Linked DNA regions of Homo sapiens: regions 2, 3, 4 and 5 are each linked to region 1. Evidence: promoter capture Hi-C in 16 types of primary human blood cells and fetal thymus (Javierre and others, 2016). All regions are on one chromosome and are shown on one strand. Each heading gives the region's core, a stretch centred on a gene start or on the middle of the fragment in contact. The rest is flanking DNA. Distances are from core to core; before and after follow the strand shown. Region 1 holds the start of PHYKPL (5-phosphohydroxy-L-lysine phospho-lyase). Region 2 overlaps CBY3 (chibby family member 3). Region 3 overlaps RUFY1 (RUN and FYVE domain containing 1). Region 4 holds the start of RUFY1 (RUN and FYVE domain containing 1). Region 5 holds the start of LOC124901224 (U4 spliceosomal RNA).

Region 1 (5,758 bases), core at 1,144-3,643:
TATCCCGATGGCTGCAAACGTTTCAACTGCAAGCTTAAAAATGTAGAGTCGGCTGAGTCCTCAAAGTGCCCGGGGAGAGCACAGAGGCGGTAGAGGGTTCAATGATTTGTTCAAGGTCCCAGCCGAGACACTGGGGAGCACCCTGCTTCACAGCTGAGACTCAAGGACTGGGGGGCCTCAGGCCTCCTGCCAAGAAAGGCAGTACAGCCTCAAAGTACCCCTTTCTGGAAGAGAGAGAAGTACATTTACTGAGTCCTGCTGTGTCCCATGACAGCTAAACTAACCACAAGGATGACGATCCCTTTTTATAGATGAATGTGAAGGGGACTTACCAGGTCTCTTTCCTCCTGGTCCCTAGGAGACCACTAGGAATACATGGGATGCTTCTGGTTAGCACAATGATTGCAGGACACCTGGGCATTCAGGGGACAGGGCCAGGGATAGCAAACACCTAAAATGCATAGGACAGTCCTACCCAGTGACAAATCATCTCAACAAGAATCCCGGTGCCAACCCTGTTGAGAAACACCATGCCCTGGGTTCAAATCCTGACTCAGCCACTTCCATCCCCTACCCTCTTGGACTCCAACATTGCCTAGAGGGCCAGGCATGAAATAAAGGACAGATGAGTGCCTGGCACAGGGCCAGAGACAAGGAGTGGGCTTTTCTGAGCAGGAAGAAGGTGAGGCCTCCTGGTGTTCTGTGCCATGCTATAAGATACTCCTGGCCCAGGAAATGGCTCAACCTGGTCTGACCTCCAACTATATCACCTCTTGACCCAGGAGCAGGTGAGATGTTAGCCGGGCCCAGCTACAGCCTTCTCACCCTCTGCCTTAAAGCAGGAAAAGCCCCTGAGCCAACCTGATTCCTCTGAGCTGCACGGGGCCACAGCTGTGGCTGGAGTTTGGGCTGCAAGACAGGGCTGAAAGGCGGGGCCCAAATAGGACTCACACACACACAAATACACACACACACACACGGTCTGTGAGGTCTTGATCCTCAGAAACGAAGTACAGGCTGGGTATGGTGGCGTGCACCTGTAGTAGCAGGTACTTGAGAGGCTGAGATGGGAGGATCACATGATCCCAGGGAGGTAGAGACTGCAATGCTGCACTCCAGCCTGAACAACAGAATAAGACCCTTTCTTTAAAAAAAAAAAAAAATACAGGCCACAAGCAGTTAACCTCGCAGTTAATTTGGGAAGAATTTTTTCCAAAAATCATGTAAAATATTCAATTCAGCTTTACAGTTAAAAATAAGAAATTCCATTCTTTTAGGGAAGATGAAAAAGTCCTGTTGCATGGATGGTGGTGATGGCTGCACGACGATGTGAATGTACTTTTGCCACTGAATTGTATCCTTAAAAATGGTTAAAATGGTAAAATTTTGTTATGTATATTTTACACAATAAAGAAAAAAGAAACTCCAAATGTTCTTTAATAAATGCCTTAAGCGGCCGGGTGCGGTGGCTCACCCGGCCTGTAATCCCAGCACTCTGGGAGGCCGAGGCAGGCAGATCATCTGAGGTCAAGAGTTCAATAAATGCCTTATGCATCTTACAACTGTATTGGGAAGAGAAGAAGAAATCAGCAATGAGGGAGTGAAGCAGAGGCCTGGGAATCATGATGTGGACAGAAAGAAGGGACAATCAGGAGCCTCCCCTGCACCTGCTGCAGTCCCAGGCCCGTGTTCCAGGGTTCTTCAAGGCAGAAAGCCCCAGTGCCTCACCCCAGGAGGGGGCTTTTCTCTCATATCCCAGCCCCTTGGGAGGCTTTTTCTTCTCACTCCCTGGGCTGGGAGTCAAGAAGACCTCAGTAGGAGTCCAGCCTCTGCAGCCTTGCTGCGTGTCTGACAACAAAACCCTTTCCCTTTCTGGGCTTCAGGGTCACCGACATGTACCACAAGGAGGATTCCCAACCTCTCTTCTTGCCCAAACGCTGCATGATTCTCTCAGCGACGATACAGCTCGTCCGGTTCACCCTGCCTAGATTCTAGCAGGAACTATGGTGCCCTGAAGGTCAAGCCCATGGTGATCTCCTTGGTCAGCCCCAGAAGGGACCCTGGGCTCTCCTTCTGCTCTTCCTGCTGCCCCTTCATGGGGCTGGGAAAACCTAGGACCTGCTTCTCCCACCCTGAGGCCCCTACTGTGTACCAGGCCCGGGTAAGGTACCAGTCACATACTCGCACTTAGGCCTCACAGTTCATCCCATTTTATGCACAAGGCGACTCAAAGACTGAGTCTGGCCCAGAGAAGGCCTGCAGGAGCTCCGAGCCCCGCCTGGGCGCCGGGAGCAGGGGCGGGGTCGTCCGGGACCCTTTCCCGGAAGGGAGGCCGCAGGGGCCTGCGGGGCGGGGCCTGCGGGGCGAGGCCCGGGGCGCGTCCCGGAACCAGAGACGGGGCAGCGCTCGAGTTCCTGCGCGGGACTGCCAAGGCACGACCACGGGCCGGAAGGCTGCCAGGCCCAGTGGGCAAGCGAAGAAATGAACCACCGCAACGCGGGCGCTTCGGGGCGGGGCCGAGTGCGAACCTGAGCCCCAAATCCCGACCCAGGCAGGGGCGGGGCCCGGAGCGGGGCCTTGGAGGCCCAGCCCGCGCGGCGACGTCTCCGCGTGGCGTCACGGCACCGACTGACGGCCACCCACCATGGCCGCAGACCAGCGCCCGAAGGCCGACACGCTGGCCCTGAGGCAACGGCTCATCAGGTACCCGGGCGGGGGGCGGGCGGCGGGGGGCGCGGGGCTGCGCGGAGAGGCACGCGCACGCACGACGCACGCACGCACGCACTACGCACGCGCCTCCGGCTAGGAAGCCGCTGCTACCCATCCCGTCCGGCCGCTGCCCCGGCCCCGCTGGAGCTTCTAGGGCCCGAGGCGGGCGGCGCCGTTGGGCAGTCCCGGCGGGTGGTCTCCGGGGCCGCCTCCCCGACAGCGCCGTCTCCAGGCCGCCCAGTTCAGGAGACGGCCCCGCCCTCACCGCTGTTCGGCTGTGTCAGCCTCGCTTGGCAGCCTTTACTCCGGAGAAGACCTTCACCCTGGCGCCTGAGAGGACCTCACCCAGGGTGGCCCGTCAGCAGCACCTGGGCCTGGCTCGAGAGTGACCTGGGAGGGGGCTGAAAGGGCAGACAAGGGAGAGTCGGGGGAGTCGGTTCACAGGCAGCACACTTGACCTGTGAGGGGGCCCTCGGTGGGACGGTGGGTGAGGTCGCCTCCCACTGGAGCTTAGGGCTGGCACCCAGCGAGGGGCAGCAGGGCCACGTGGCTGGCAAGGAGCTGTTTAGGGCTGAGAGCCAGGCACCTAATGTTGGTGCCCTGGCCCATCCCATCGAAGACACGCGGCCTTATGGAGTCCCCATGGGACGGGGCAGCCACCTTTTCTCAGGATCCGGGAGACTGACGCGGACACATGCAGAAATGAGCAAGGAGGCCACAGAGGCTGAAAATGCTTTCAGAAACAATCCGAAGTTTCAGCGACTTGTTACCCCATCTGCTTCCTGCTTTGCAACCACCTGTGGAGTGGAGAGACAAGGCAGGGAAGCAGCACCTTGCCCTTCCAGCTCTCATTTCCCCCCCGCCACCAGAAACTGGGAAGGGGTGGGCGGGGGTCTGCGATGAGTAGACTTCACCCTTTCGGTCTTCAGACATGGCTGTCCACTCCTTGCCTGTCCCCACAGCTCTTCCTGCAGACTCTTTTTTCCCGAGGATCCTGTTAAGATTGTCCGGGCCCAAGGGCAGTACATGTACGATGAACAGGGGGCAGAATACATCGATTGCATCAGCAATGTGGCGCACGGTCAGTATCACACCTCAGGCTGGCAGGGCAGGAGAGGAAGGCAGTGCTGTGAACCTGGTCCCAAGGTGACCTGAGATTGCCGAGAGGTGTGGAGAACCTGGGTGGAGTTGAGGCACTGTCAGTATGCAGAGGAGGCTCAGCCTTCGCAATATAGCTGTGGAATTCTGCAATCTGGAGCTGTGCTAAACCAGGCAGGGGTCAGCAATCTAGGTCTGTGAGTCTAGTTCCACTTGGGACTGATGATGAGCTCACAAAGTGGCAGATGGCCCAGCTGTGACCAGCAACGTAGCACAGTGCTGGCCAAGTGCTGGGGTCATGGCAGTGCTTCAGCCCCATTGGCCATCTCAGGTGCTAGGCAAGGGAGCTGAAGTAGGAATTCAGTCATCTTGATGAGGCTGCCAGAGCTGATGGAAAGAAAGGGAGTCTGAGACTCAGCAGGCACATGGAAGATGAATAAAGTTGAGGTTAAAAAAAAAAAAAAAGCAGAGACTCTAGTCTTAGACTGCTTGGGCTCAAATCCCTGTCCCCTACTTACTAACTTGTGATCTCGGGCAAGTTACTTAATTCTCAGTGCCTCAGTTTGCTTATCTGTGAAAGACATAATGATACTAGGTACCCACTTTAAGGTGTTTGGAGAATTAAGTGTGTTAATTTATGTAGCTTGCTCTGAATGTGCCTGGCACATGGTGAGCTCTCAGTACATATTCACTGTTATTATCCTTGGCCTTTGACAATCAAGATTACCACCAGCCCCCTTGGCTGGTGAAGTGAAACCAGTTGACAGTCACCCCCCACCCCACCTTTGTCATACAAGCCTCAAAAGGCCTTCCAGCCTGGGCAACATAATGAGACCTTGTCTCTACCAAAAAAAAACTTAAAAATTAGCCAGGCATGGTGACTGGTGTCTATAGCCCCACCTGCTCAGGAGGCTGAGGTGGGAGGACCACTTGAGCCCAGGAGTGTGAGGATGCAGTGAATGCCATGATCACACCATACACTCCAGCCTGGGTGACAGAGTAAGGCCCTGTTAAAAAAAAAAAAAAAAGTCCTCCTTAAAGACATGGGCTTTCTAGACAGGGTTCTTCTGCTGAAGCGGCTTTCCTTCTGCCAGAATCTCAGGAACTCCTGGATCTGCCTTTCCAGAACCAGCTTCTCTCTCCCTGCTCTGCCTTCAGACTGCCCTCTTTCTACCTCTCCCTCTAGAACTACATCTCTTCTGGCTGGGTTTATAGCTTGGGGCTGGGGGAGGCCCAGTGGGACTGGCTGAGTGGAGCCAGCCGTGTGACGGAGGCGGCCCTCTTCCAGTTGGGCACTGCCACCCTCTCGTGGTCCAAGCAGCACATGAGCAGAACCAGGTGCTCAACACCAACAGCCGGTACCTGCATGACAACATCGTGGACTATGCGCAGAGGCTGTCAGAGACCCTGCCGGAGCAGCTCTGTGTGTTCTATTTCCTGAATTCTGGGTAAGTGGACTGTGGCCAGCCCCCGGGAAGAGGGTGAGACGGTAACAAAGACAGTCACTCACATGGGCCCAGTGTAGTGTAGCTGACCGAGTGTGGACTCGGAGAGGCAGCCCCCACTGCACCAGGCTCCTGAGATTCCCGGCTGTAGGCCCTGATGCTTTCTCTGTTGGATCCAGTTTCCTTGTCTCTTATTGAAGGATGTTATTACCTCCTTTCTAGGATCATTGCTGGAGCTTAGTGAGGTAATATGTTCCTTTATTTCTGCCTTAAGGATACAGCCAAAATCCCTGCCTGTGGGTTGCTCAGTAAGGAAGGAAAACATCAAGTGATTCTTCAAAGAAATACAGAATTGCAAGGAGGGCTCTGGAGGAAGTGTACAGGGTATCATGAGGCCTAGAAAAAGTGAGGGGACCTGACCTGGGGGTTCAGGGAAACCTTCCCTGAGGAAGGGCTGTTAAGCTCAGAGCTGACTAGGAGATAACTAGAAGAGGAGGAAGGAAGGG
Region 2 (5,758 bases), core at 1,485-3,984, 1.4 Mb before region 1:
GGTGGGCCTGGATGTGGGCTTCCAGAGACCATCTCCCTGAACCAGATCTTGGGGATGGTATGTACCATCCAGCCTCTGTCCACCTATATGTGAGGGATAAGTGTATTATGAATTAACGAAGGCATAACAGAGGGAACCCTGCTCTAGTTCTTTCTCTTCTCACTGCCCATGGGCAGAAGAGGAATTAGAAACAACACATAGCTCCCTTTTTCACATAATAGAATCAGCACTTACTGGGCAGGGGTGGGGGGTGCAGAGAGAAGTGAGCAAAATGGGACTTGTCTGTTATCTGGACTTTGGACTTCCTGAGGGCACAGTTTGTTTGGAATAAAAGTCATGTTTAGTGTGCACAATCCCTGATACTTTGAGCCCTATGCATAGGTCTAGCCCATGGCACACACCCCAGGATGTCAGTGAACACACTGGACTGTGGTCTATACACGCATCTGTCTTCCAAGCTGGATTAGGAGCACCTTGAGGGCAGGCAGAGGCTGTTTCAGGTCCCCTTCCCAAGACCAGAGTCTGGCACAGAGCAGATGCTAGTTCAAGTCTATCAAATGACTGAATGATGAGGGCAATAATGCTGTTGGCTATGCTAGATATCCTCCCAGATTGCTTTCAGAATCCAGATCTAACCCCGGCTTTCTAATCCTTCAGCAGTTCCCTCTTACCCACAAAAGGAAGTCTAAGCTTCCGAGCCTGCCTGTAGGGCACCTTCACATAGTGCACTGGTCCACCTTCCCAGCTTCCTCTTCTGCTCTTCCCAGCACCAATCCTATCCAAGCTCGTGTTCACATCTGAAATATGAAAGTCCTGCCCTGCCGGGTACAGTGGCTCACACCTGTAATCCCAGCACTTTGGCGCTGAGGCGGGCAGATCACCTGAGGTCCGGAGTTCGAGACCAGCCTGGCCAATAAGGTGAAACCCCATTTCTACTAAAAATACAAAAAAAAAAAAAAAAAAAAAAAAAAGGCCAGGCGCAGTGACTCATGCCTGTAATCCGGGCACTTTGGGAGGCCGAGTTGGGTGGATCACCTGAGGTCAGGAGTTCGAGACCAGCCTGGCCAACATGGTGAAACCCCGTCTTCACTAAAAATACAAAAATCAGGTGGGGGTGATGGCAGGCGCCTGTAATCTCAGCTACTCAAGAGGCTGAGGCAGGAGAACTGCTGGAACCCGGGAGGTGGAGGTTGCAGTGAGCCAAGATCGCGCAATTGCACTCCAGCTCGGGCAACGACAGCGAGACTCAGTCTCAAAAAAAAAGAAAAAGAAAGCCCTGCTCGGCTCTTCCCTCTGCCTAGAAGTTCTCCATTTTCCATCCTCAACCCACCTGGCAAAGTCCTACTCCTCCTTTAAGTACCTACTTACTTGTCTTGCTACCATTCCCTACCCCTCACCCTTCCAGCTGCAACTCAGAACAAGGCCCTCCTCCCGTCCTTCATCTGCATATGTATCCCAGGGCCTGATCCTCAGTGGTCTTTGGGGAAGATGGTTTAGGTGAGACTGCTGCCTGTGCAGCGTGGAACGACGGGCTCCTCGGTGGCCAGCAGCTGGTGAGACACAGCCGCAGCCGTAGCTGCAGGGCTAAGACATGTCCGCCGGCCTCGCGGTTTGAGAGGCGGCCTGTACCAAGCACGCTGCTCACCCGGACTCTTGTCTCCCAGCAGCGCCCCCTGGCTCGCCTTCATCATTCTGGACATCCGGGCTCCCGAGACAAGAGCGCAGCACGAGTCGCCAGCGCTCCCGAGGCTCCCCTTCGAGCACCTGCGTGCCCTACAAGGTCCACGCCCTGGCAACCTTCGAGTGCTCGGCTACGAGCCATGCCAGCCGCCTGTGGCAGACGCTGCAGCAGTTTTGGGCCGATCACATCTCGCGGCCCTTCTCGCCACGGCGGCCGCCACTGCGCCGCATGCCCTCCCTGTCCACCTTCTACCTGCTGGACCACAACACGCGCCAGGCCGAGCTGGGCCTCGCCTACGGCGCGCCGTGCATGCGCCTCAGCAACCAGGCCTTCGTGTTCCGCGGCGGGCGGTGGACCACTGAGAGCCAGCTGGCGAGGACGCGGTCGCCGCTGCTCTCGCGGACCGCCTGGGGCTGGAAGGCGCAGGTGCAGCGGTCCAAAAGCCAAGTGTTGCTGGAGGAGAACAACTACCTGAAGCTGCAGCAGGAACTGCTCATAGACATGCTGACTGAGACCATGGCGCGCATGCACTTGCTGGAGAAGCAGCGCAACCCCGAGGTGATCCCGACGGCTGCGGCGCGCGCCGGGCAGAGGAAGATGCGCAAGCGCGCAGGCGCCAGCGCGGGCGTGCTCATGATCCAGCCGTGCGCTCTGGACTCGCAGTGACGCAATAAAGGCCGCGCTACGCATGCGCGCCTCACGCCTCGGGTCTGCCACTGCCCCAGCGCGGGACTGGCTCCCGCGGTTCCCCGGGTCGGTCTGTGCGTGTGGGTTGGGGAGGTCTGCGTGGCCTCGGGGACTGCCCCTCGGTGCTGGGTGTCGGCAGGGGACGCAAGCCTAAGCTGCCTGTCTTGGGAGGGTGTGATGGGGCCGTGGAGGAGGGTCTGCGCGTGGCTCTCCGGGAGTGCGGAGTGGAAGCCAAGCTTGCAGCCGACATGGCCCAGATAGGGTGGAGTGGCGGGTAATGGCCTTGCAGGCCATCCAGGTAACGGAGGGCGAAGTCCCGGAGACGGAGGAACCGCGGTGCTCAGGGAATGAAGGGTGTGGTGCGGAGGGAGCGGAGGACGGTGTATGGGGTCGGGGACTTTGCACTTGGTCCGTCTTCAGGGCCTCTAGGCTCAGGAGGTTTAGAAACTAGAAGTCCCAGGGTAAGTGTTATTTTACATTCCCAAGAGAAGCTTTCTGGAAACCATGGGCTGTGCGGCCCCCACTTGCCTGTGTGGCATTTTGGAGAGTCGCGTCTCTGTTACAGGCCTTTTTTTTTTTTTTTTTTTTTTTTTAAACTTATTTTTAAACACGGGGTCTCGCTCTTGTCACCCAGGCTGGAGTGCAGTGGCGCGATGATGGCTCACTGCAACCTCGAGCTTCCGGGCTCAAGCAGTCCTCCCACCTCAGCCTCCCAAACGTGGGATTACAGGCGTGAGCCACCGCGCCGGGCTCAGGCCTCCTTTTCTTTTCTTTTCTTTTCTTTTTGAGACGGAGTTTAGCTCTTGTTGCCCAGGCTGGAGTGCAATGGCGCGATCTCGGCTCACCTCAACCTCCGCCTCCTGGGTTCAAGCGACTCTCCTGCCTCAGCCTCCCAAGTAGCTGGATTACAGGCATGCGCCACCACGCCCGGCTAATTTTTTGTTTGTTTGTTTTTGAGACAGTCGCGCTCTGCCGCCCAGGCTGCCGTGCAGGGGCACGATCTCGGCTCACTGCAACCTCCACCTCGCGGGTTCAAACGATTCTTCTGCCTCAGCCTCCCGAGTAGCTGGGACTACAGGCGCTGCCACCACGCCCGGCTAATTTTTATATTTTTAGTAGAGATGGGGTTTCACCATGTTGGCCAGGCTGGTCTCAAACTCCTAATCTCGTGATCTGCCCGCCTCGGCCTCCCAAAGTGCTGGGATTACAGGCGTGAGCCACCGAGCCCGGCCTCAGGCCTCCTTTTCTACCTCCATAGAATGCAGTCTGCCTGGCCCACAGTCTTCTAAAAATTGCATTAGTTGCCAAAGTTTCAGAATTTGGAGATACCACATTAAAAATCCAGATTTCCTGGGGCCAGGCGTGGTGGCTCACGCTTGTAATCCCAGCACTTTGAGAGGTCGAGGCGGGCCTATCACGAGGTCAGGAGTTAAAAGGCCATCCTGACCAACAAGGTGAAACCATGTCTCTACTAAAAATACCAAAAATTGGCCAGATGCGGTGTCGGGTGCCTGTAAGCCTAGCACTTTGGGAGGCTGAGGTGGGCAGATTGCCTGAGCTCAGGAGTTCGAGACCAACCTGGGCAACATGGTGAAACTCCATCCCTACCAAAATACAAAAAAATTAGCCGGGTGTGGTGGCGCATGCCTGTAGTCTCAGCTACTCCTGGAGGCTGAGGTGGGAGAATCACCTGAACCTGGGAGGTGGAGGTTACAGTGAGCCGAGATCACACTACTGCACACCAATCTGGGCGACAGAGTGAGACTCTGTCTCAAAGGAAAAAAAAAAAAAATTAGCTGGGCTTGGTGGCATGCGCCCTACAGTCCGAGTTACTCCTGAGACTGGGACAGGAGAATCGCATGAACCTGGGAGGCAGAGGATGCAGTGAGCCAGCATCACACCACAGCACTCCAGAGCCAGACTCTGTCTCAAAAAAAAAATAAAGAAAATTTTAAAATCCAGCCGGGCACAGTGGCTCACACCTGTAATCCCAGCACTTTGGGAGGCCAAGGCAGGTGGGTCACCTGAGGTCAGGAGTTCGACACCAACCTGGCCGCCAACATGGTGAAACCCTATTTCTACTAAAAATACAAAAATTAGCCAAGCATGATGGCAGACGCCTGTAATCCCAGCTACTTGGGAGGCTGAAGCAGGAAAATCACTTGAACCGGAGAGGTGGAGGTTGCAGTGAGCCAAGATCGCGCCACTGCACTCCAGCCTGGATGACAAAGTGAGACTCTGTCTCAAAACAAAAACAAAAACAAAAAACAGATTAGGTTACCAAGGGATGGGAGGACACAGTTTGTGTGTGTGTGTGTGTGTGTGTGTGTGTGTGTAAACACAAGGGGGCTTCCTTTTGGGCTGATGAGAAATTGGCACTATAGTGGTGATAGTTTTGCAACATTGTAATAAAAGTCACTGAATGGTACACTTCAAAACGGTCAATTTTATATGAGTTTTATCACAATAAAAGAAGTAAAAGGAGGAAGATGCTTTACATAAAAACATTAAGCAAAACTTACATGTAGCATGCCAAAATAGCAAAACTCATAAAGGGATCCAAGAATGCCTAAAGTTTAGGGAATATTGCTTTGGCCAGACTACTTGAAAACAAATACAGTCCTAGGGTGGAGAAAGGTATCTGCCCCACCAAACCTGCAGAAGGCAGGGAGTCCCACAGCCCAGTGCGGGCCCTGTTTAGAAAGGTTCATCTACAGGTCAGATGCGGTGGCTCACGTCTGTAATCCCAGCACTTTGGGAGGCTGAGGTGGGTGGATCACCTGAGGTCAGGAGTTCGAGACCAGCCTGGCCAACATGGCAAAACCCCATCTCTACTAAAAAAAATACAAAAAGTTAGCTGGGTGTGGTAGCAGGCGCCTGTAATCCCAGCTACTTGGGAGGCTGAGGCAGGAGAATTGCTTGAACCTGGGAGGTGGAGGTTGCAGGGAGCTGAGATCGCACCATTGCAGCCTGGGCGACAGAGCGAGACTGTCAAAAATAAAAAATAAATAAAAAAAGAAAGGGGCATCCAAGTGGATCAAGGGCCTGAAATAAAAGGAGCAGGATGATATTTTGAAATATCTAACTTTGTTCTTTCTGCTCTAGAATTTCACACCCTGGTCCTGAGCCCTGCCAAAGGGCAGCCCAACTCATTGCCCCAGGAGATGAAAGCCACAGAGCATAAAGTCGGAACAAAGAAAGCAGGAACAAAGGACCCTGGCTTTCACCTCCTACAGCTCAGAATCCTCTGGGGAATAGAGCTTTGCAAAAATATTTCTGGGTTTGAGGAGGCAGGTCAAAAAGGCTGTGTAGGTTTGTCAAGCAAGAGGAGAGATGAGGGCCAGGTGTGGTGGCTCACACCTGTAATCCCAGCACTTTGGGAGGCCAAGG
Region 3 (5,758 bases), core at 1,679-4,178, 1.4 Mb before region 1:
TTCACTATTAGGGAAATAGTTACATCATAGTGGAAGCATAAAACAAACATGTACTCAATAAAATGTTTACAAAAACTTTTAATCACTTGAGAACATACTTAAGATATAATACTAATAAGGAAAAAAGGTTATATGGTATGCTCTCACCTGTATTAAAAAAAAATCAACTAGGTTAAAAATGCTTAAGAAAAGATGGAGTGGCTGGGTACAGTGGCTCACACCTGTAATTCCAGCACTTTGGGAGGCTGAGGTGGGTGGACTGCTTGAGCCCAGGAGTTCGAGACCAGCCTGGGCAACATGGTGAAACCCCATCTCTACAAAAAACACAAAAATCAGCCAGGAGTGATGTCTCATGCCTGTAATTCCAGCTACTTAGGAGGCTGAGGTGGGAGGATGGCTTGAGCCCAGGAGGCGGAGGTTGCAGTGAGCTGAGATCATGCCACCGCACTCCAGCCTGGGTGACAAAGCCACAGCCTGTCTCAAAAAAGAAAAAAGAAAAGTTGGGAACAATACAAATCAAATAATAAAATGACAAGAATAGTTGTCACTTAGTAAAGGGGTTATGGGCTTTTTTCCTGACTCTTCTTTCTTTCCAGTTTTTCCAGCTAATGATCGGTAAAAGTATATTTAAATCACTAGAGGGAGAATTAAAGAATTTGCAGGGAGGAATAAAAAACAAATCATTGAAGATATGCCCAAGAGGACCTCTTATTCCCCTGGAAGGACTTCTCATGGCTGAGGGAAAAGCATAGAGAAGCAGGACGCTGTCCAGGACCTGCCTAAGGAGAGGCTGTCACAAGAGGCAAGGCAGATGAGTAAACACACCAACCCATCCCTCCTCATTCCAGCCTCATCACACAGCTTGCAGAGAGGAAGGTGCAGCTGGGGAGAAAGAAGCAAGATCTCTGTCCTTGGTGCTTGGCTGGCTCTCGGCATCATTCACTAGTGGAGGGACCTCGAAGCACTGAACTCCTCACTTTCTCTGTCAACAGTGTCTACACCCCCTGAGAATTCCTCTCCACTTAGACTCAGAACCCAGGCCTGGGGTTTCTACACATTAACTGCTGTGCCCAAAAAAAGAAACACCAAGGCTTGAAAGGGCGTGTTACTTGCCCGAAGGGAAGAAGCAGGCAAAAACCATAAGCTAATTCCCATTCCACTCTCTGGAGATGCAGAGAGCACACCCTGAAGAGGGCTACGCTTTTCATTAAGCACATTTCTTTGTTTTTTTAATTGAGACAGGGTGTTACTCTGTCTCACTGCAGCCTCCAACTCCTAGGCTCAAGTGATCCTCTCACCTCAGCCTCCCGAGTAGCTGGGAGTACAGGTGTGTGTCACCACAGCTAACTTTTAAATTTTTTGTAGAGACAGGGTGTTGCCATGTTGCCCAGGCTGGTCTCAAACTCCTGGGCTGAAGCAAGTCTTCCACCTTGGCCTCCCAAAGAGCTGGGATTTACAGGCATGAGCCACCACACCTGCCTGAAGCACATTTTCTATTACAATCATTTGCCTTTAAAGAAAACATAACCTGGCTGGGTGCAGTGGCTCATGCCTGTAATCCCAGCACTTTGGGAGGCCGAGGTGGGCAGATCACAAGGTCAGGAGATTGAGACCATCCTGGCTAACATGGTGAAATGCCATCTCTACTAAAAAAAAAAAAAAAAAAAAAATTTAGCCGGGCGTGGTGGCGGGCGCCTGTAGTCCCAGCTACTCGGGAGGCTGAGGCAGGAGAATGGCGTGAACCCGGGAGGTGGAGCTTGGGAGCTTGCAGTGAGCGGAGATCACGTCACTACTGCACTCCAGCCTGGGAGACAGAGCAAGACTCTGTCTCAAAAAAAAAAAAAAAAGAAAGAAAGAAAAAAGAAAACATAACCGAAGCTGGGCTCAGTGACTCATGTCTGTAATCCTAGCACTTTGGGAGGCCAAGGTGGGTGGGTCACTTTAGCCCAGGAGTTTGAGACCAGCCTGAACAACAAAGTGAGATCCCGTCTCTACAAAGAGTTAAAAAATTAGCCGGGTGTTGGTGGTGTGTACCTGTAGTCCCAGCTACTGGGAGGTTGAGGCAGGAGGGTCTCTTGAGCCCAGAAGTCTGAGGTTACAGTAAGCTATGACTGCGCCACTGCACTCCAGCCTGGGTGACAGAGTGAGACCCTGTCTCAAAAAGCAGAAAAACCCCACATAACTCTGCTTAGTTTCAAAAGCTCAATTGGAGCTTCATCAAAGCACGCCATCTTGACTGAGATGCAGGGAATCTGCTTGTTCTAAAATCAAACAACTCGAGTGCTCCCACGTGGCAAGTGTTGTCCTGAGCACATTTACCAGATATTCGTCTTAATCTTTGCAACAGTAAAGGATGTATTATTACCTAATTTGGAGGTGACAAAAGTGAGGCTCAACCACCGACCTGCCTGACCTGAGGCTCAAAGGCCTGCCTACCAAGGTGACTGTGAAGCCTCCAATCCTAAGTTCCATGAAGCTTCTCCCATGACACCCCCATCTGTGACACCGTCTTGAATTTCCTTCTACTCACACAAATCTGAGCTCCTTTCCTGAAGGCCTTTCAGGGCTGGCGCCTCAGGAGGGAGCAGTCAGCTTTAAGGGAGGCTTACACGGGGTCCCTCATTACAGAGATGGGCTCTGAGGCTCTCTTCTCTGCTGTAACCCACCTCCATGCCGTGGAGGTGTTCCTTCTCAAGCCCCTCTCAGAGCCCTTGTCCTTCTAGGTGGGAGGCCTGGGCAGCCGGGGACTGCTACCTGTGGAAAGCCTCAGAAGGGCTGAGCACCCCCCTCCTGCTAACAGGAGACAAGATGTGTCCAGCAAGGAGACTGCCGGGCAGCTGGCAGCAAGCTCTCTTCCTCGGCTCAGCCCTCCTTTGTCCTGTCCTTTCATTCTCTCTTCCTAGTGAGAAAGCAGAGAAAGACCGCACTGTGGGGAGGCTGGTTGCATGCTCCTGAGGCCAAAGCAGAAGGGGTGGGCTGGATACTTATTCCTTATGACAGAGTCTGTGCTTTCTGGGGCAGCAGGGAGGCACACGGCATCATGGGAAGGGCAGAAAAAGAGGAAGACACGGCACTTCCACAACACAAGCTGGGCTCTTCCAAAGAACAATTTCCTTCTATGGGATGACTTTGAGGTGATAAAATCTAAGTCACTTAGAACTGGCTCGTGATCCGCTGCAGTGTCTCACTGGGAGCCTCGGACAGAGCAGAACACAGACATTCTCCTGTCCCACGTGGGGTAGCTGGAGGCTAGCAAGTCCCCTTCCTACCAGCAGGAAGCTCTGCTATCGCAGACCGACTACACAGATTCTCTTAACCTTGGGTCATTCTGTTTTGTCTAAAAATTTCAATAAAACTTACAAACCTCTTCTTGAAGCTTTGAGTTAGTCTTTTCCAAGCCATCTATCTTGGTTTGAAGATCCCCAACTGTGCAGCTGTAGAAAATAAGAATATTAAGTAAACATAAACTTATACAAGCTGACTGTTTTCTCAATCTGTAAACAGTAAGAGAGATTCCTAGATTTCCTGTATGAAATGGAAAGGCAGAGGGTCTCCAATTAACTCAGAGAAGATGAGAATTCTAAATATACATTTGCAACATACTTTTCAATAAGTTTTGTCCCGAAAATTTAATCTTTCTTTTTTTATTTTGAGGCAAAGTCTCGCTCTGTCGCCCAGACTAGAGTGCAGTGGAGTGATCTTGGCTCACTGCAACCTCTGCCTCCCGGGTTCAAGCGATTTTCCAGCCTCAGCCTCCCGAATAGCCTAGACTACAGGTGCGTGCCACTGCACCTGGCTAATTTTTTTGTATTTTTAGTAGAGACAGGGTTTCACCATGTTGGCCAGGCTGGTCTCGAACTCCTGACCTCAGGTGAGGCTGCCCACCCTGGCCTTCCAAAGTGCTGGGACTACAGGCATGAACCACTGTGCCCGGCCTATTTCTTTTTTAGTCATCTGGAAAGAGAATTTTTTTCTCCCAACACAAATGGTGATAGAAACCAAAATGTGTTGGCAGTCATATACCTAAAGTAAAATTCATTAACAAGGTATTAGTATTTTTGGGTAGAAGGATCCAAGGTGTTTTTTGTTTGTTTGTTTTGAGACAGAGTCTTACTCTTTCGCCTAGTCTGGAGTGCAGTGGCGCGAGCTCAACTCACTGGAACCTCCACCTCCTGGGTTCAGGTGATTCTCCTGCCTCAGCCTCCCAAATAGCTGGGACCACAGGCGCCCGTCAACATGCTCGGCTAATTGTATTTTTAGTAGAGACGGGGTTTCACTGTGTTAGCCAGGATGGTCTCAATCTCCTGACCTCGTGATCTGCCTGCTTCGGCCTCCCAAAGTGCTGGGATCACAGGCGTGAGCCACTGCGCCCGGTCCCAAGGTGTTTTTAAATCCCTTTTACACCTTCCCCATTTAAAAAATATTATTTAATAACATGTACTACTTTTTTTTGTTTTTTTTTGTTTTTGAAACAGGGTCTTGCTCTGTCGCCCAGGCTGGAGTGCAGTGGTGTGATCATGGCTCACTGTAGCCTCAACCTCCAAGGCTCATGATCCTCCCACCTTGGCCTCCCACCTTGCCACCAGGCCCAGCTAATTTTTGTATTTTTTTGTAGAGGTGAGGTTTCACTATGTCACCCAGACTGATCTTGAACTCCTGGGCTCAGGTGATCCTCCTCCTGCCCCAGCCTCCCAAACTGCTGAGATTACTGGCATGAGCTTCCACACCTGGCCTCTAAGCACTTTAAATGCATCAACTCATTTAATCTTCCCCACAATTCAATGAGGTAGATCCTACTGTTAGCCCATTTTACAGACAAGGCAGCCATAATTTTATATAAAAGAATTCACTCAAGTTCACATATCTACAAAGGGGTGCTGGCATCTGAACCCAGGGAATCTGGCTCTAGAGCCTGTACTTCTGGGCAACAGGTCATGCTGCCAAAGACCAGTCCCTGTTGCCAGTGAGTGGGGGACAAAGAAATAAACTTAGCAAGGCTAATGAACCAAGGCTTAGGAACCGGGGGACAAATATAAAAATACAAAGACACAAAATGAAAAAGGGAAAAAAACCAAAAGATACAGAGGGAATGGAAAGTTTTAAGAGTATACAATTGTCAATTCTGTGCCAACTTGATAATTTAGAAAATACCCCCCAATTGTATATTTTTCTTAAAAATATAGGCCTGACGTGGTGGCTCACGCCTGTAATCCCAGCACTTTGGGAGGCCGAGGCGGGCGGATCACAACGTCAGGAGATCGAGACCATCCTGGCTAACACGGTGAAACCCCGTCTCTACTAAAATACAAAAAATTAGCTGGGCATGGTGGTGGGCGCCTGCAATCCCAGCTACTTGGGAGGCTGAGGCAGGAGAATGGCGTGAACCTGGGAGGCGAAGCTTGCAGTGAGCGGAGATCATGCCACTGCACTCCAGCCTGGGCGACAGAGCAGGACTCTGTCTCAAAAAAATAAAATAAAATAAAAAATAAAAATAAATAAAAATATAAATGACTGGCCGGGCACAGTGGCTCAACACCTGCAATCCCAGCACTTTGGGAGGCCGAGGCGGGCGGATCACGTGGTCAGGAGATCGAGACCATCCTGGCTAACACAGTGAAACCCAGTTTCTACTAAAAATACAAAAAATTAGCCAAGTGTGGTGGCAGGTGCCTGTAGTTCCAGCTACTCGAGAGGCTGAGGCAGGAGAATGGCGTGAACCTGGGAGGCGGAGCTTGCAGTGAGCCGAGATCGCGCTACT
Region 4 (5,758 bases), core at 829-3,328, 1.3 Mb before region 1:
TACTGACTGTCAATGAGTATGCAACTCAGCATCCACTGATGTGTGGAAAAGTCTCGGGAAAAGGTGTCAAGCTAGAGGGCAGTAGATTCCCGGCCTGCCCAGGCTCTCATCATCCTCTAATGCTATTTTCCACTGCCAGGATCTCAAAACGAGTCAGCCTTTCAACTTTACTCAGTAATTATTCTTGACCACTGAAAATCTCACAATTCACTACCTGGGGTCAGTGCATCTACAGCAAAGGTACCAGTGGATGGGGAGGAATCAGGAAGCCTCGAGTGTGTGCTATGATGCTCCTTGGAAGGCACCACAACCTTTCCTCAGCTCTGTCCCAGCATTTTCTATGAAGTTGGCAATGTTCTATTATGTGCTATCTCATACAGTAGCCACTGGCCACACACAGGCTACTGAGCATTTAAAATGTGGCCGCTGTAATCGAGGAACAAGTTTTTTTTTTTTTTTTTTTTTTTGAGACAGAGTCTCGCTCTGTCACCCAGGCTGGAGTGCAGTGGCGCGATCTCGGCTCACTGCAACCTCTGCCTCCCAGGTTCAAGCGATTCTCCTGCCTCAGCCTCCTGAGTAGCTGGGACTACAGGTGCATGCCAACACACCCAGCTAATTTTTTGTATTTTTAGTAGAGACGGGGTTTCACCATGTTGGCCAGGATGGTCTCGATCTCTTGACCTCGTGATCCACCCGCTTCGGCCTCCCAAAGTGCTGGGATTACAGGCGTGAGCCACCGCTCCCGGCCGAGGAACTCAATTTTTAATTCAATTTAAAAGTACTGAATTTCAATTGATTCAGTTAGAAATTGAGGAATCCGGCCGGGCGCGGTGGCTCAAGCCTGTAGTCCCAGTACTTTACGAGGCCGAGGCAGGTGTATCACAAGGTCAGGAGTTCAAGACCAGCCTGGCCAAGATGGTGAAACCCCGTTTCTACTAAAAATATGGGAGGGGGGTGGGGGCGGGGAACTTAGCCGAGCGTGGTGGTGGGCACCTGTAATCCCAGCTACTCGGGAGGCTGAGGCGGGAGGGAGGATCGCTTGAACCCGGGAGGCAGAGGGTGCAGTGAGCCGAGATCGCACCACTGCACTCCAGCCTGGGCGACAGAGCAAGACCCGGTCTCAAAAAAATAAAAATAAATAAAAACAAAAACACACACACAAAAACATATGCGTGCTGTTGTATTGGATAGCACAGCTCTGGATGTCTGGCGTTAGAGGGCTAAGTTACTTAACTCTTACTATCACTGATATGCTGGCACTCTGTTCATTACAAGGGCTGAAAAGGTCTTTAAGAGATCATCGGGTGACTTTAAAATCCCCATCTCACAGGCAGAGGTGAGCGGAGGCGCCGCTGGTCCGCTGCGCGCAGGGCCCACGCCCTCCCAACACCCGCCGGCGCTCCACTCCCGCACTGAACGGCTGAAAAGCAGAACAGTGCTGGCTCCGTTTCGTGTGTGGAGTTACTACAGAGTTCCGAAGCCCGGACGCGCACACGTCCTTCACCTAGTTAGTGGGAGAGCATAGAGGCGCGGGTGCGGGAGCGCGCTCAGGCACGCGGGGCTGCGGGGGGCGGTCTCGGCTGGGCCGCCGGAGTAAAGACCCAGGCGCAGCCAGGCGCCGCCCGCCCGCCAACAGCTCGCGTAACCTCCCGGAACGGCCAGTGCCCTCCCAGCCCGGCCCCCACCGCGCCCGCGCCGGCGGCCAGCGGGGACACGCGAGTCCGCCGCGGGACAGACCCGGCCCGAGCCTACCTGCGCGCGCCGTGCCGTCCCCGCTGTCCCCGCCGCCCAGCCCCGCGGCCGCGCGCAGCGCGCTCCCGCAGCTCGCCGACAGGTTCCCGGTGGCCCTGCGTGCCAGGGTCAGGATGGGCGCCGACCAGCCCTCGGCCGCCCGCGGCCTCGTTGCGCTCCGCAGGTCGCCTGGGCCGGGCAGCTGGCTTCGGTCCACGATCTCAAACTCTTCTCCCGGCTCAAGCGCTGACCCGGGCCCCGGCCCCGGCTCCAGCTCCGGCTCCAGCTCCCGCCCCCGCCCAGCAGCGCAGCCGCCTTCCCGGTCGGCCATCTTGGCCGTGTCATGTGACCCAGCGGGCGGGCGGGCGCGGGGTGGGGGCGGGCGGGCATCGCCTTTGCCTTAGGTGGGGGAGATTTTTCTCCCTCTTCACCGCCTCGCCTTCCCTCTGTTTCGAAAGGTTCGGGAAAGTCCAAGTCATAACATAAAAAGTGTGCGTATTCCCGGCCGCCGGCAGGACCTGTTCGCGGGGAAGTTCCTCTTGAACTTTCTCCGAGGACAGTTGTGCACCCTGCCCGGCGCTTCACGGGGTTCCCTGGCCGTCGTTGTCTTTGTGACACCATTTCCTCTTTTAAATTTTCATTTCATGGTCTATATTTTCCACTTCGTCATTTTTCTGTAGCACTCATTAGAACAAGCCCCGAAAGGGCGACTAAGGAAACGCACAGGCGAGGCAGGAAAGCAGGAATTTTTTTTTTTTTTTAATCTAATGACTATGACGGCTTGGCAAGAAAGAGTGCACGATAGTGGACTGGAAATCAGAGGTGGCTTCTCCTATTGATTAGTTAAGTGGGATAACAAAAACCGACCTCATTATTAAATAAGATTTGCAGTAAGGACCACATGGCAGATGTTAGCGATTGTGACTACTATCTCTGGTATCCAACTGTGTGGCCTGGGTAAGTCACTATACACTCAGTCTGTTTCTTCACTTGGAAAAGAAAGGAATTTGAGTAAGTACAAAGGAAAATTTTGGCCGGGCGCGGTGGCTCACGCCTGTAATCCCAGCACTTCGGAAGGCCCAGGCGGGCCTTTAGTAGGACGAAACCCCGTCTCTACTAAAATACCAAAACAACAACAACAACAACAACAAAAAACCAGCCAGATGTCGTGGCGGGACAGCTCTACTCCTAGCTCCTTGGGGGGCTGAGAGTGGGAGGATCGCTTGAGCCCGGGAGGTCGATCCCACAGTGAGCGGAGATCATGGCCACTGCACTCCAGGCTGGGCGACAAAGTGAGACCCTGTCTCAGAAAAAACACTAAAATTTACTAGCACTTAACACTTTGCAAAGTGAGGCAACATGAGCCACACCAAACCAGCAGAGCTGTTTTGATTCCCAGAATGTTTACAAATCTTAAAACTTGTTGCCAATATTTAGAAATCAAAAGATTTCACATAAGAATCTGGATTTTAGCTTTCTCTGGAATCACTGGAATATTTGGTAACTCATGGCATATTCCCAGATGGCAACAAACTGTTGGGAATAAACTGTGCTGCCCCTTTAGACGCCCAGCTGCTCCCTGGACCTGTCTTGGTCCAGCCCACTTCACTAGGTTGCATGATATGTCTGGTCCCTGAAAGGCCAGTTCTCAGTGAAGGGATACCACTTCATCTAGGAGTGTTTTGGGAATTTGTGGAGTTGGTGTTTGAGTTGTGTAATGACTGAGGGCATACTACCAGTCTTTTTTGTTTGTTTGTTTTCGTACGGAGTCTCGCTCAGTCGCCCAGGCTGGAGTGCAGTGGCGCGATCTCGGTTCACTGCAAGCTCCACCTCCCGGGTTCACGCCATTCTCCTGCCTCAGCCTCCCGAGTAGCTGGGACTACAGGTGCCCGCCACCACGCCCGGCTAATTTTTTTTTTTTTTTGTATTTTTAGTAGAAACGGGGTTTCACCGTGTTAGCCAGGATGGTCTTGATCTCCTGACCTCGTGATCCGCCAGCCTCGGCCTCCCAAAGTGCTGGGATTAGAGGCGTGAGCCACCACGCCCGGCCTGGTCTTGTTTGTTTGTTTGTTTTTGAGGCCAAGTCCTGCTCTGTCACCAAGCTGGAGTGCAGTGGCGCAATCTCGGCTCACTGTAACCTCTGCCTACCGGGTTCAAGCGATTTTCCTGCCTCAGCCTCCCAAGTAGCTGGGACTGCAGGGGCGTGGCGCCACACTTGGCTAATTTTTGTACTTTTAGTAGAGACGGGGTTTCACCATGTTCGCCAGGATAGTCTCGATCTCTCGACCTCGTGATTCCCCCGCCTCGGCCTCTCAAAGTGTTGAGATTACAGGCGTGAGCCACTGAGCCCGGCCCTACTAGTCTTTACTGGATGCATAGACAGGGATGAAGATAGTCTAGAATAACAGCATTGTCCCGAATCCTTCATGACTTTCCAATGCTACTGGACATTTATGTAGGTGAAAAGTTTGTTTATAATGATCAGGGCGTGGAACCGAATTCCATTTTGTATAAAAACATTAACTCTTTTTTGGGGGAACAGTTTCAACATTTATCAGGCAAGGTTATTCTTCAGTAACAACCCCCAAATCTCAATGGCTTAACCTAAAAGCTGGTTTCTCATCATGCTACATGTCAATGTAGATGGGGTGAGTACTCTGCCCAACTCATTGTAGTCTCTCAGGACCCAGCCTGTTGGGAGTTTTGCATAAATATTACATGCTCCAGTCCTGCATGACAAAGGTCACTTATGCACATTTCATTGGTGAAAGCAAATCACATGGCCACGTTTAATTTCTAGGGAGTTGGGAAGTTCAGACCTATTTCTGTCTGGGAAAACCACAACTGGGAATCTTTGTGAGCAGTGTAATGACTACCATAAGTGTACCCTAAATTTTCCTGGAACGTAGCTAAATTGATTTGTTCAGAATTACACGTGCAAATGTCTATGTTATTTCAGTGGTAGTTGTGCCTCGTTTACATATTGAAATATATCTCATTTTATAGTGCTTCGCTTTATTGCTTTTTTAACAAATTAAAGTTTTTGGCAGCCGGGCACGGTGGCTCACGCCTGTAATCCCAGCACTCTGGGAGGCACAGGTGGGTGGATCACCTGAGATCAGGAGTTCGTGACCAGCGTGGCCGACATGGCGAAACCCCGTCTCTACTAAAAACACAAAAATTAGCCAGGCGTGGTGGTGGGAGCCTATAATCCCAGCTACTCTGGAGGCTGAGGCAGGAGAATCGCTTGAACCTGGGAGGCAGAGGTTGCAGTGAGCCGAGATCGAACCACTGCACTCCAGCCTGGGCGACAAGTGCAAAAAAAACTGCGTCTCAAAAAAAGAAAAAGTTGCTGTTGGCAACCCAACAGCACGTGCTTATTTTGTGCCTCTGTTTCACATTTTCGTAATTCTCAAAATATTCTAAACTTTTAAACTACCCTTACATCTGTTATATGATTTGTGATCTGTGATCTTTGGTGTTACTATTATTAATTGTTTTGGGGCACCACAAACTGCACCCATATAAGATGGTAAACTTAATTGATAAATGTTGTATGTGTTCTTACTGCTCCACCAACCACGTGTTTCCTTCTCCCTTACCCTCTCCTCGGGCCTCCCTGTGCCCTGAGACACAATATTGAAATTAGGCCAATTAGGCCGTGGCTCAAACCTGTAATCCCTGCACTTTGGGAGTCTAAGGTGGGCAGATCACTTGCGATCAGGAGTTCCAGGCCAACATGGTGAAACCCTGTCTCTACTAAAAATACAAAATTAGCTGGGTGTGGTGGCAGGCACCTGTAATACCAGCTACTGGGGAGGCTGAGGCACGAGAATTGCTTGAACCTGGGAGGCGGAGGTTGCAGTGAGCTAAGATTGCATCACTGCACTCCAGCCTGGGCGATAGAGTGAAACTCCATCTCCAACCAAAAAAAAGAAAAGAAAAAGGAAAAGAAATTAGGCCAATTAATAACCGTACAATGGCCTCTGAGTGTTCAGGTAAAAGGAAGAGTTGCATGTCTCTCTCT
Region 5 (5,758 bases), core at 1,143-3,642, 1.3 Mb before region 1:
AACAAGAACAAAGAAAAGGAAAACACTTGTAATCCTATTGCATGGGGACAAGAGACAATCACGACTGACATTTGCCAGGTTTTCTCCTAGTTGTGTTTCAGAGCATCTGTTTCCAGGTTAGTGTGTTCTGAATACAGGCTCTGTGTCCTACGCTCTGAATATGAGCCCCGCGTCCTAGCCTCTGGGTATAAGCCTTGTGTCCTAGGTTCTGGGTATAAGCCCCGGGTCCTAGGTTCTGCATATAAACCTTGTGTCCTAGGCTCTGGGTATAAGCCTTGCTTCCTAGGCCCTGGGTATAAGCCTAGGGTCCTAGACTCTGGGTATAAGCCCCGGGTTCTAGGCTCTGGGTGTAAGCCCCGCCTCCTAGGCTCTAGGTGTAAGGCCTGGGTCCTAGGCTCTGGGTAGAAGCCCCGGGTCCTAGGCTCTGGATACAAGCCTTGTGTCCTAGGCTCTGGGTATAAACCTTCTGTCCTAGGTTCTGGGTATAAGCCTTGTGTCCTATTCTCTGGTTCTCAGCCCCTTGTCCTAGGCTCTGGGTATAAATCTTGTGTCCTAGACCTTGGGTTAAACCCCATGTCCTAGGCTCCGGGTATAAGCCCTGTGTCCTTTCTGCATATAAGCCTTGTGTTTCCTAGGCTCTGGGTATAAGCCCCATGTCCTAGGCTTTGAGTATAAGCCCCATGTCCTAGGCTCTGGGTATAAACCTTGTGTCCTAGGCTCTGAGTATAAGCCCCACGTCCTTTCTGGGTATAAGCCTTGTGTCCTAGGCTCTGGGTATAAGCCCCATGTCCTAATCCCTGGGTATAAGCCCCGGGTTCTAGGCCCTGAATATAAGTTCTGTGTCCTTTCTGGTTATAAGCCTTGTGTCCTAGTCTCTGGGTATAAGCCCCATGTCCTAGGCCCTGGTTATAAGCCCCGAGTTCCAGGCCCTGGGTGTAAGTTCTGTGTTCTTTCTAGGTATTAGCCTTGTGTCCTAGGCCCTGGGCATAAACCTGTGTCCTAGGCCCTGGGTATATGCCCCAGGTTTTAGGCCGTGGGTATAAGCCCCAAGTCCTAGGCTCTGGATAGAAGCCCTGGGTTCTTGGTCCTGGGTATGAGCCCCATATCCTAGGTCACCAACCAGATTGAGAGCCCAGTCAAAGTTCTTTCTCATGGTGTGTCTAGGACGTCAGAAAACCTAGAGATGTGGCCGGACTCTGAGCCCCCTGAAAAGGGTTCCCAGACCTTTTGTGAGAGGGAGGCTTTGTCTGCCCAGAGCCCACCTAGTCTTGGAGTCTTGGAAGGCTGCCCGGCACCTCAGGTAGGCCTGTTTGCACCTCAGCCTCACCCTGGTCTGGGTATCCACTCCATACAGACATGTTTTTAAAAATTGAGGAATAGCTTTGTGCAGTGGCAGTATCATAGCCAATGAGGTTTATCCGAGGCGTGATTATTGCTAATTGAAAAATTGAGGAATAGTTTAGTAAAACACACAGATCTTAAATATATAATTCAATGGCTTTTTACAAATATCTATCTGTAGCCAACACCCCAATCAAGGCAGAAAACATTGCCACCATTGTAGAAAATTCCCCCCAATCCCTTTACAGTCTACTCAACTTCCCTTGTCCCCTAATCCCCAAGCAGCCACTATTCTGATTTGCATTCCAGAAAAGTAGTTTTTCTGGATTTTTTTTTAACTGACTTTCGCTCTTGTCGCCCAGGCTCGAGTGCAGTGGCGCAATCCTGACTCACTGCAACTTCCACCTCCTAGGTTCAATCAATTCTCCTGCCTCAGCCTCCCAAGTAGCTGGGATTAGAGGCGTGCACCACCACGCCTGACTAATTTTTGTATTTTTAGTAGAGACGGGGTTTCACCATGTTGACCAGGCTGGTCTTGAACTTCTGACCTCGGGTAATCCGCCCACCTCTGCCTCCCAAAGTGCTGGGATTACAGGTGTGAGCCACCGTGCCCAGCCTGGTTTTGAATTTAATAAATCTGTATGACATCCTTTGTATGGCTCCTTCAGTTCAAAACACTGTGTTTTTGTTGTTGTTGTTGTAGAGATGGAGTCTTGATCCATTGCCCAGCCTGCTTTCAAACTCCTGGGCTCAAGCAATCCTCTGCTCTTGGCCTCCCAAGTGTTGGGACTGCAGGTGTGAGTCATCGCACCAGCCAGAGTCCAATCGTGTCTCTAGTGAGAGCAGCCACTTTAATATAAAGGCTCAGGAATTCCTCCTCATGTTTGCTGCAGTGGCACTTGCCCTCTGAGTATCAGTTAGCTATTGTCACACTTATGCTGTGTAACAAACCATCCCCACATCTCAGTGGCAAACAGTAATAATCATTTATTTCTTACTCATGAGTTTGTGGGTTGGCTGGGCAGCTCTGCTCCACATGCCTCTCATCCTCTTCCTGGGACCAGCAGGGGCAGTTTCGTCTCTGGCTGATGGCAGGGCCCTGAGAGACGGCACATCTAACCCCACAAACACATTTCCAGTTTTGCTGTGTCATGCCTGCTGGCATCCCTTTGGCCAAGCCCAAAGTCAAGGGGTGGGAAAGGGAGGCTATGGCGAGGGTGTGAGTGTGGGTGAAAAACTGGGGCGGGTCATTCAATCTATGTTACCAGTTTCCTGACAATGTAAGTTAAGAGAAAGAGCTTTGTGGCTGACGCCTGTAATTCCAGCACTTTGGGAGGCCGAGGTGGGCAGATCACAAGGTCAGGAGATGGAGACCATCCTGGCTAACACGGTGAAGCCCTGTCTCTACTAAAAATACAAAAAATTAGCCAGGCGTGGTGGCGGGCACCTGTAGACCCAGCTACTCGGGAGGCTGAGGCAGGAGAATGGCGTGAACCCGGGAGGCGGAGCTTGCAGTGAGCTGAGATCATGCCACTACACTCCAGCCTGGGCGACAGAGCGAGATTCTGTCTCAAAAAAAAAAAAAAAAGGTAAAACTGGTTTGGTTTGCTAGTCCAATTATTTAGTGAATCAGTCCAGTTTATTAGAAATCCCAATGAGGTTGTTTTCAGAAGTGAGACAGGTCTGACCGGATCATTTGCAGAAAGCTCTGTTCTTGCTTTGGGACAGTCCTGCCCGCACTGGGAATGTGAATTTAATCGCCGTTCTCTCGCCGCTGCTCCTGCCCGCCTGGGACCAATTCCCTACCACACTGAGCTCATTGGAGACTTTAGTTTCATATTTTTAAGACCAGTTTAGTGCATCATCTCTGTCTTTATTTCTCCCTCCAGCACTTACTGTAGTTGATCTCTTTTATTTTCTTAGATTCTTTGGGGGGAGTTTATAGGTGGGATGAACCCATATATGCATGAAAATGTCTTTATTTTGCACCCCCAATTTAAGGCTAGATTGGCTGGGTCTTGGATCCTAGATTACGAATAGTTTTTTCTTTGGAATGTTAGAGAAATTGCTCTACTATCTTTTAGGATTCGGGATTGATGATAAGTCTTGATGTCAAGCTGACTTTCATTCTATTGTGACAACCTATTCTCTCGGTCAGAAAACTATGAGGATTTTCCTTTTTTCCTTGGTATTCCAAAATTTTGCTGCAATGTGCCTAGATTTCTAAAATTCCACTTTACTTTTTTTTTTTTTTTGAGATGGAGTCTTGCTTTGTCATCCAAGCTAGAGTGCAGTGGGGTGATCTCAGATCACTGCAACCTCCGCCTCCTGGCTTCAAGTGATTCTCCTGCCTCAGCCTCCCAAGTAGCTGGGATTACAGGTGCGCCACCATGCCAGGCTAATTCTTGTATTTTTAGTAGATAAGGGGTTTTGCCATGTTGGCCAGGCTGGTCTTGAACTCCTAGCCTCAAGTGACTGTCTCAGCCTCCCGCTTTATTTAATTAATTTATTTTGAGACGGAGTCTCTCTCTGTTGCCCAGGCTGGAGTGCAGTGGTGCAATCTCGGCTCACTGCAAGCTCTGCCTCCTGGGTTCACGCCATTCTCTTGCCTCAGCCTCCCGAGTAGCTGGGGCTACAGGCACCCGCCACCATGCCCGGCTAATTTTTTTTGTATTGTTTTAGTAAACACAGGGTTTCACTGTGTTAGCCAGGATGATCTTGATCTCCTGACCTCATGATCCACCCACCTCGGCCTCCCAAAGTGCTGGGATTACAGGCGTGAGCCACCACACCTGGCCATGAGTTCCCTGTCCTTCTCAGGGACAGGGAGTCAGTGATTCCTGGGGAGACTGTCTTTCTTCTCTGGACCAAGTATTCGCACTTTCTATATCAACTGGGGGCAAATGCTGTGCGATGCTGGTGACCTTGCTGATTTATTCCCAGAACATGATGCATTTCCTTCCCCTTTCTTTCCCTTTTGTGCTACTTCTAATTAAGGAAGATATTTCTGTCATTTATGGGATTTTGGTTCGGAGGGAGGTCAATCAGGGGTGCTTGTTCCTCCATCTGGCCCTGATCTGCGTTTTTAGCAAAACAACTGAGTTTGGAAGTTTGAAACTAATGACATTAGGGCTGGGAAATTTCTTAATGTAAATATATTTTAGCAGAGTTAATGAAAACTTGGAGTGCTTACAAAGTTGGATATCTTACATGTGTGACAAATTATATATAAACCAGATTTCATTTCCTGTTTTTTTTTTTATTTTTTCTTCTTTTTAATCAGCAAAGGAAAAATGGCAAGAAAACCAAGTCTCTTATCTTATAACTACACATTTTAGGGGAGAATGCATATTGAAACATTTTCAACATTTGCTGTTAAAATGAATACAATTTTACAAAAAGAACCCCCCCCCACACACACAAAGCATAAAGTTCTAGGCGATGATGAGCCCCTCATTCAGAAATGGTCCAGGCTTTGCCTCCGGGAGCCCGTTGGCCCCAGCCTGCTGCTGTTGGCAACCGCAGTGCCGTTTCCCTCACACATCTCTCATCACTATGGTGATTCTTGTTAAATAAAGTGAGCAGTCCCGATCATGTGCACTAGTGCCTTCTTCTGCGTTTAATCTGTGGCTGTCAGTTTCCACAACCCATCTATTCAATAAAGATTTGTTGATTATCTACTATGTGCTTGGGCCCAGTGACGCAAAGATGAATAGGACAAGATGCTTGCCCTTGAGGAAGCTTCATGTAGGGGAGAAGAGGCAGAACAGTTAGATTCCATGGATCCTCTGGCATTTGGAGTCCAACTTTACATGTTTTTGTGAAGTGACTGAATTTAACAATGTCTTATGCTTGTATAATTTTTCAAAAAATATGTTTAACTTTCAAATGGGAGATGCATGACATAGTTCAAACCATCAAAATGATATGAAAAGATATCCCCACCTGCTCATTCTCCTTCCCCCACCTCCCCCTCTAGGCAACCTTTTTCTTTGAGACAGTCTTGCTCTGTTGCCCAGGTTGGAGTGCAGTGGAGCGATCTTGGCTCACTGCAAGCTCCGCCTCCCGGGTTCACGCCATTCTCCTGCCTCAGCCTCCCGAGTAGCTGGGACTACAGGCACCCCCCACCACGCCCAGCTAATTTTTTGTATTTTTAGTAGAGACGGGGTTTCACCATGTTAGCCAAGATGGTCTCAATCTCCTGACCTTGTGATCCGCTCATCTCGGCCTCCCAAAGTGCTGGGATTACAGGCGTGAGCCACCACACCTGGCCATATATATATATATATGGAGTGTCGCTCTGTCACCCAGGCTGAAGTGCAATGGTGTGATCTTGGCTCACTGCAACCTCTGCCTCCCGGTTTAAGCAATTCTTCTGCCTCAGCCTCCTGAGTAGGTGGGATTACAGGCATGCGCC

What was found. Contacts are between HindIII fragments. The CHiCAGO score rates a contact against its expected background, and 5 or more counts as called.
Region 2: a contact is called between a fragment that was not itself captured here and the fragment with the promoter of PHYKPL in region 1, in 1 of 17 cell types (fetal thymus). The highest score is 5.1, in fetal thymus.
Region 3: a contact is called between a fragment that was not itself captured here and the fragment with the promoter of PHYKPL in region 1, in 1 of 17 cell types (erythroblasts). The highest score is 5.9, in erythroblasts.
Region 4: the fragment with the promoter of RUFY1 here is called in contact with the fragment with the promoter of PHYKPL in region 1 in 1 of 17 cell types (endothelial precursors); the score reaches 6.9 in endothelial precursors.
Region 5: a contact is called between a fragment that was not itself captured here and the fragment with the promoter of PHYKPL in region 1, in 1 of 17 cell types (endothelial precursors). The highest score is 6.1, in endothelial precursors.

The regions. Positions count from the first base shown.
Region 1 is chr5:178,229,437-178,235,194 of GRCh38, reverse strand. PHYKPL (5-phosphohydroxy-L-lysine phospho-lyase) reads left to right here and starts at 2,393. Exons shown (of 13, transcript NM_153373.4): 1 at 2,393-2,703; 2 at 3,672-3,790; 3 at 5,096-5,255. The coding sequence starts at 2,645. It overlaps LOC112267937 (a long non-coding RNA gene), which reads right to left and starts at 1,157. Exons shown (of 3, transcript XR_002956238.2): 1 at 1-1,157. RefSeq lists enhancers at 104-183, 2,231-2,769 and silencers at 2,159-2,568, 2,649-2,968. The HindIII fragment of the contact is 8,512 bases long and covers 36-5,758 here.
Region 2 is chr5:179,675,172-179,680,929 of GRCh38, reverse strand. It overlaps CBY3 (chibby family member 3), which reads left to right. Exons shown (of 2, transcript NM_001164444.2): 1 at 1-57; 2 at 1,665-2,370. The coding sequence starts at 12. The coding sequence ends at 2,347. It also overlaps a transcript of CANX not described here. Among named protein-coding and RNA genes, the nearest start is that of CBY3, 3.0 kb to the left of the region's middle. RefSeq lists enhancers at 1,932-2,191, 2,079-2,694. The HindIII fragment of the contact is 255 bases long and covers 2,607-2,861 here.
Region 3 is chr5:179,583,472-179,589,229 of GRCh38, reverse strand. It overlaps RUFY1 (RUN and FYVE domain containing 1), which reads right to left. Exons shown (of 18, transcript NM_025158.5): 8 at 3,365-3,434. All of the region lies in intron 4 of LOC128966623 (a long non-coding RNA gene), which reads right to left. Among named protein-coding and RNA genes, the nearest start is that of RUFY1-AS1, 17 kb to the left of the region's middle. The HindIII fragment of the contact is 900 bases long and covers 2,479-3,378 here.
Region 4 is chr5:179,546,874-179,552,631 of GRCh38, reverse strand. RUFY1 (RUN and FYVE domain containing 1) reads right to left here and starts at 2,078. Exons shown (of 18, transcript NM_025158.5): 1 at 1,753-2,078. The coding sequence starts at 2,062. The region is part of intron 4 of LOC128966623 (a long non-coding RNA gene); the gene reads right to left. It overlaps LOC105377762 (a long non-coding RNA gene), which reads left to right and starts at 2,128. Exons shown (of 4, transcript XR_941315.4): 1 at 2,128-2,688. RefSeq lists a silencer at 1,444-2,153. The HindIII fragment of the contact is 8,514 bases long and covers 1-5,758 here.
Region 5 is chr5:179,487,778-179,493,535 of GRCh38, reverse strand. It overlaps LOC124901224 (U4 spliceosomal RNA), which reads left to right and starts at 1,379; the gene lies at 1,379-1,521. The HindIII fragment of the contact is 5,384 bases long and covers 1-5,084 here.